2 separate regions of the Homo sapiens genome follow, and region 2 is linked to region 1. The links are contacts of gene promoters, found by promoter capture Hi-C in human tissues and cell types (Jung and others, 2019). All regions are on one chromosome and are shown on one strand. The core of a region is centred on a gene start or on the middle of the fragment in contact, and the rest is flanking DNA. Distances in the headings are between cores, read along the strand shown.

Region 1 (3,269 bases), core at 269-2,768:
AGTCCCAGTTACTGGGGAGGCTGAGGCAGGAGAATGGCATGAACCCGGGAGGCAGAGCTTGCAGTGAGCCGAGATCGCGCCACTGCACTCCAGCCTAGGCGAGAGTGAGACTCCTCTCAAAAAAAAAAAAAAAAAATTATTCCCTGCATCTCCAAAGCAGTTTACAGTTGCTAAAGGGCTTTGTCCATCACTTTCCTGGCTCCTTACAGGGTAGAACTGAAGGTGTTCTGATCTCACTTTATTTATTATTTTATTTTATTTTGAGTTGGATTCTCGCTCTGCCGCGCAGGCTGGAGTGCAGTGGCACGATCTCGGCGCATTGCAATCTCTGCCTCCCGGGTTCAAGCGATTCTCCTGCCTCAGCCTCCCAAGTAGCTGAGATTACAGGTGCAGGCCACTGTGCCCGGCTGATTTTTGTATTTTTAGTAGAAACGGGGTTTCGCCATGTTGGCCATGCTGGTCTTGAACTCCTGACCTCAGGTGATCCTCCCACCTCGGCCTCCCAGAGTGCTGGGATTACAGGCATGAGCCACCGTGCCCGGCCAGGCCAGGCTAATTGTTGTATTTTTAGTAGAGACGGGGTTTCACCATGTTGGCCAGGCTGGTCTCGAACTCCTGACCTCAAGTGATTCCCCCGCCTCGGCCTCCCAAAGTGCTGGGATCACAGGCTTGAGCCACCGCACCCAGTCTTGAGCTCACTTTATAGGTGGGATGGAGAACCTTGTAGGAGTTAAGAGCCTGGGCCACCGCCTTATTAGAGCAGGGGCAGCGCTGCACCCACCCGGGTCCCAGCTCCACACTTCCCTCTTCCTCCCCAGCCACCAGGATCAGCGTGGGGTGCAGCGCCTCCTGAGTGCAGAGGTCTGTGTGAATGTGCCTGGGTGTGCGCTGTGTACCTGGAGGTCTTTCTGCCTGCTGTCCCGTGGGGTACATTGTGGATTTAGGGGCCTTGTGCACCCGGGGAACCAGGGTGCTCAGGCACCCACGCAGTGGTGAGAAGATGGAGAGATCTTGGCCTCCCTCTGCCCTTTTCAGCCTTTCAACTTCTGTCTCTTGATGTCTCTTCGCCTTCCCGGTGTTCTAGGGTTTCTGATTCCCTCTATCAGTTTCCGGGGACGAAGGCTCGGAGTCCCCTTCCCAGCCGCTCTTATAATGGAGAGAGGAGATTCCATTGAGGGGTGGCTCCTGGAGGAGGGGTACTTCAGGGCAGTGGGGGACCCCCGGACAGAGAACGGAGGTGCTGGGCGTGGGGTGGGGAGATAACTAAGCCAGCAACACCAGCATCACCACCACCAAAACCCGAGACACCACCATCCTCAGTCCCACTCCCCAGCCGGGACACAGGGCGGAGTCTCGCCAGTAGGGCTTGAGGCCACCCAGCTGCCCAGGGCGCACCCCGACCCCCGGCCCCGCCAGCAGGGCACGAGTCCGCTCCGGATCCGTCCCGGGTTTCTTCCGCGTCGCCGGGGTCTCCGCCCCTCGAAGCTGCCGCCGGAGCGTCGCCGGGGGAGCCACGCGTGCCACCCGAACCCCTGAACCGATGGGCGCCCCGGCCCGCGTCGCCAACGGAGCTGCGGCGCTGCCCCAGCGCTGACCGACGTTAGAGTCGGGCTCCGACAGCGCGGCCGAGTCCCCGCGCGTCATCCTCCTTTGACTCTTGGGGGCTCCAAAGGGACCTCTCTCTTGGCACCGGGGGTGTCTGCGCCCGCCGCCCGCCCCGCTTGGCTTTGCGGCATCTCGGCCCTGGCTCCAGCTCCGGCTCCGGCGAGGTAGGGGGGCGGCCGGGCCTGGGGACTGGGGAGGGGGCTAGCGTGCTCCTCCACCGCAGAATGGGGCAGCAGAAGGCCACCGCCCCTCAGGGGGACCAAGCGGCTGCGCCCCCTTCTGCCCAGCCCCTCCCAGTCCGAAGACCCAGAAAACTGAGTCAGAGGCTGCGCTTCAGGTGTCCAGAAGCGCTCCCCCGCCCCCCTCTGTTGCCATGTCGCTCCCACCTGTCCCCAGGGTCCGGCGCCCAGGGGAACCCCCGCCAAGCAGATCGCTCCCTTTGCAATCTCCCTCTCCCCCAAGCCCAAGCCCCCAATCCGGGGTAGAGGCAGAGGGAAGACCCTCACTCGGGAAGACCCTGCAGGACAGCCCCCCCTTCTCCACTACTGTGGCCCTCTGGGGCCCTCCCCCCACCCCCTTTGGCTGGGCCATCTTCCTCGGCCCCTGCCTCTGCCCACCCCCTAGGCCTTCTCTCCCGCCCCCACTTCATCGCCTCTCCCCGTCTCTGTTTCCAAGGTTGTTCTCTTACGGCCTTTTTTCTGACTTTCTTTTCCCCTTGACCCCTTCCCCTCCACGGATCCCCGCCCCCCATACCCCGGGGCGAAGGGGGTGTGTCACGCTGCTTTCTATTTACAGTGTCCCAGGGGAGGGGGTGCGTGCTAGGATTTTTTTTTTTTCATCTGCTGGGCCCAGAGTCACGAGGTGTCATGTCTGTGATTCGGTGTCGAAGCCTCCTCCGGCTTCCCTGCCTGTCCCCTGCGGCCGCATCTCCTGTCCGCTTTTGTCTGCTCTCTGCCTCCATTCCCGTCCTTTTCGCTCTCATCTTTGGGCGCTTTGTGCAGCTGCCTTCTTTGTCTCCGCCTCTCCGGCGACTGGGCTCTCCCTTCCCTCCCTCTCCTCCCTCCCCCAGTGTCAAGAAGCCATCGGCCTCAAGGGCATCGATATTTCAGGTGTGTGGGGTGTGGTGGGAGTGGGGTGCGGGTGGGTGGGCTGCCGGCATTCCCAGCTCTGACTCCGATCATGCCCAGCTATGACTCTGATCACCCCCTCCCCAAAGAGATCATTCATATTTATGAGATTTAAAGAATGTCCCCAAGGATGTGGGGATAGACATGAAGAGAGAAATGTTATTCCTCTTTTTTTTTTTTTTTTTTTTTGACAGCGTTTCACTCTTGTTGCCCAGGCTGGAGTGCAATAGCGTGATCTCGGCTCACCACAATCTCGGCCTCCCGGGTTGAAGCGATTCTCCTGCCTCAGCCTCCTGAGTAGCTGGGATTACAGGAATGCGCCAGCACGCCCGGCTACTTTTGTATTTTTTTTTTTTTTTTTTTTTTTTAGTAGAGAGAGGGTTTCTCCATGTTGGTCAGGCTGGTCTCCAACTCCTGACCTCAGATGATCCGCCTCCCTTGGCTTCCCAAAGTGGTGGGATTATAGGCATGAGCCACCACGCCCGGCCAAGAAATGCTGTCCCTCTTTTAGGAGGGCGCTTGGTCCAGGAGATACCT
Region 2 (3,257 bases), core at 436-2,935, 53 kb after region 1:
TGGGGTGGCCCCTGCAGCACAGCTGTATGGGGCTTGGCTCGGCTAAGCCAGAGCCAGCCTTTCCTTGGCTTCTGGTAGGTCTGTTCTGCATGCCACCCACCTCCCCTGGTGTCCCGTGGCTCACCATCAATCTTGAATCCCATAGCTGCTTGAATCTGCTGCTGGGTTTCTCCTCCTGTTGTCAGCTGGAGCATGGCCAACACCGAGGCCACCCCATAGGGTGAGAAAACCACGTTGCGGTCCTTGGAGGCCTGCGCCACCTGCTGAAACACCCTCACCCCGAAGTCTGAGGCCAGGTGGGCCACGTAGGATGGGGGATGGTGCACAGCAGACCCTTCACCAAAGACAAGGGCCAGGCCCAGGACTAGGCAGGTGAGGGCTGGAGACATCTGCATCCTAGAGCAATGGAAAGAGGGCTGGTGAAGGAATCGTTCTGGAAGACAGGCGGGAGGGGAGGGGAGCTGGCCAGCTGTGGGCCCTGCTCTTCTTGTTTCCTGCAAGCAGGTGGTAAGTGAACACTAGGGCAAGGTGCAGGAAGAGACCATGACATGTTCAGGTTCTAAGCCCATCCCACTCCGTCTCACTCAGACTGACTTATCCCCGGGCAGTGGCAGGGAGTCTTCGCCCATCTTGCCCTGTGGGAATCTTGGAATCCAGTCCATCTCCCTTCCCTCTGTGTCCCGTAAAAAAGCCTTAGAAGAAAAGCAGGTGAGAAGTCATTACCACTCTCTGCCTTTGCAGCCCAGGGGGAATTTAGCCCAGACTCAATTATCAATTATCACAACATCTTTGATTTGCATAAGCTTTAAATTTGCTTTCTTTTCTTTTCTTTCTTTTCTTTCTTTCTTCCTCTTTCCTCTTTCTTTCTTTCTTTCTTCTTTACTTCCTTCCTTCTTTCCTCTCTCTCTTTCTCTCTCTTTCTTCCTTCCTTTCATTCATTTTTAGAGACAGGGTCTTGCTCTGTCACCCAGGCTGGGTGCAATGGCTCAGTCTTGGCTCCCTGCAGCCTCCGCCTCCCCAGCTGAAGCAATCCTCCCACCTCAGCCTCCCAAGTAGCTGGGAATACAGGCACACCAGCACGCCCAGCTAATTTTTGTATTTTTTTGGGAGAGCAGGGTTTTGCCATGTTGCCCAGGCTGGTCTCAAACTCCTGGGCTCAAGTTATCTGCCTGCCTCAGCCTCACAAAGTGCTGGGATTACAGGCATGAGCCACAGTGCCCAGCCTTAATTCTCTTAATGCTTTCCCAGCGATTGTTTCATTCAAGTTAGCAGGCATGAGGTGGGAAATGGGTAAGTGTCTTGATGCAGAGGGACTGAGAGAGTCAAGGTTCTTGTTACTGGGTGATGGGGTTGTTGGTGACGCCTGACCATCCTCCCTGCTCTCCTGCAGTCACCCCTAGGGCAGGGTCGACCCAAGGCTGCAGGTCCGAGGAAAAGAAAATAGAGGAATAGCGGGGGATCATGGAGGGAGGAGATTCTGGGGAGGCGAGTTCTCTGCCTTAAGCCCGAAGTAAGAGGTTGGAGGGAGTTTGCTTTTCTCCTACCTGAAGTTCTCAGAGGTGCCTTGCGATTGGCGGTTCGTCCTGCTCTGGCGGCGGCTGCTGAGCTGCAGGAATTCAGCTGCTGGAGGGGGGCGTGTGGGTCTTCTTGACAGCGCTCTTGGCCCTGCAGCCAAACACAGCTGTGCTCCTCTGTGGGCCACTGCCTCCTTTTATACCAGATGTGGGCAGGAAATAGATGAACTCATGTTCCAGCCCCACCCACTCACTGGCTCTGGGAGTCCGTCTGAACAGCCAGCGGGTCCCCCTCGACACCTCCCTCTCTGGGACTTGCTGAGGCATGTGTGTGTGTGTGTGTGTGCTGCTCTGTGTGTGTACGTGTGTAAGAGCATTCAGGAACAATTGAGCAAACCCCAATAGCCTTGGCCTGAGAACCTCCCTTGACCTTTCTGCCCTCTGCCTGTGTCTGTCTCTCCCGGATGTCCTGCCAGGTTGACTGTCTGCCATGCCGGGTGACCCAAAAAGCCTAGGACCCCTAGTGTTCAGCTTGGAGAAAAAAAAAACAGCTCACGTTGCCTGCTTTTCCTTTGGCGAACCAGGTCACTGTGGAGTTATCAAAGATAACCTCCATCAAAACGTGGAAGTTTTCCCCCAGGGCTGTCCACCCGGTGCTCTGGACCACCTCCAGGAAAGAGCGCCCCTCCCTCCTCCTGGGCCCAGCCCAACAGCCACAGGGCATGCAGCCAGCCACGTGATTGTCTAGGTTTTGTCTGTCTAGGACTTGGGCCCAACAGAGGACTCTTGGTCTTTCCCTCATCCCTGCCATGTGCCCGGCCGCCTCCGATGATACACGGCTGACTCCCCACGTGTCCAGACTCTCTCTGTGCCCCTGAGGGCTCTCTTGTGTCAACAACCTTGTCTGGCTGAGGTTGGAGGTGTGCTGGGTGGGGTGGTGGTGGCTGAACGGGACCAGGGGTTACCATGGTAAAAGCTTGGTAAGGAAACAGGAGACCAACGTGTAAGTTTCACTTCTTCGAGCTGCCCGCTAGGACTTGGGGCAGCTTGTCCTTTATCCTCTTCCTCCAGACACAGACACAAGGGGAAAAGGGATAGAAACAGAGTGTCAATTCATGGCAGGTTTGCAGGGTGTGCTTTTAGGGCAAGGGGGTGAGGGGAGGAAGAGTGACCGATAGATTCTGTGGAGCAGTGGTCCTCAACGTTTTTGGCACCAGGGACTGGTTTCATGGAAGACAATTTTTTCACAGACCAGGGTGGGATGGTTTCGGGATGATTCAAGCACATTACATTTATTGTGTGCTTTATTTCTATTATTATTACATTGTAATATATATAATGAAATAATTCCACAATTCACCATCGTGTAGAATCAGTGGGAGCCCTGAGCTTGTTTTCCTGCAACTAGATGGTCCCATCTAGGGGTGATGGGAGACCGTGACAGATCATCAGGCATTAGATTCTCATAGGGAGCTTGCAACCTAGATCCCTCACATGAACAGTTTAGAATAGGGTTCGAGCTCCTATGAGAATCTAATGCCGCCGCTGATCTGACAGGGAGTGGAGCTCTGGTGGTAATGCGAGTGATGAGGAGTGGCTGTAACTACAGATGAAATTTCACTCACCTGCCACTCACCTCCTGTTATGCAGCCTGGTTCCTAACAGGCTATGGACCAGTACGGGCCCCTGGCCCAGAGGTTGGGTACCTCTGCTGTAGAGGGTGGAAACTGGCTAGCAGTGGGT

The links. The method cuts DNA at HindIII sites, captures the fragments that hold promoters and counts their contacts. A contact is called where the count stands out against the background at its distance.
Region 2: a contact is called between the fragment with the promoter of SERPINE1 here and the fragment with the promoter of NAT16 in region 1, in 1 of the 25 tissues and cell types used here (liver).

Annotation. Positions count from the first base shown.
Region 1 is chr7:101,178,542-101,181,810 of GRCh38, reverse strand. It overlaps NAT16 (N-acetyltransferase 16 (putative)), which reads left to right and starts at 1,518. Exons shown (of 4, transcript NM_198571.3): 1 at 1,518-1,769. RefSeq lists a silencer at 1,349-1,643 and an enhancer at 1,015-1,737. The HindIII fragment of the contact is 15,471 bases long and covers 1-3,269 here.
Region 2 is chr7:101,125,532-101,128,788 of GRCh38, reverse strand. SERPINE1 (serpin family E member 1) reads right to left here and starts at 1,685. Exons shown (of 9, transcript NM_000602.5): 1 at 1,545-1,685; 2 at 125-396. The coding sequence starts at 395. RefSeq lists enhancers at 1-469, 470-1,249, 2,030-2,809. The HindIII fragment of the contact is 16,005 bases long and covers 1-3,257 here.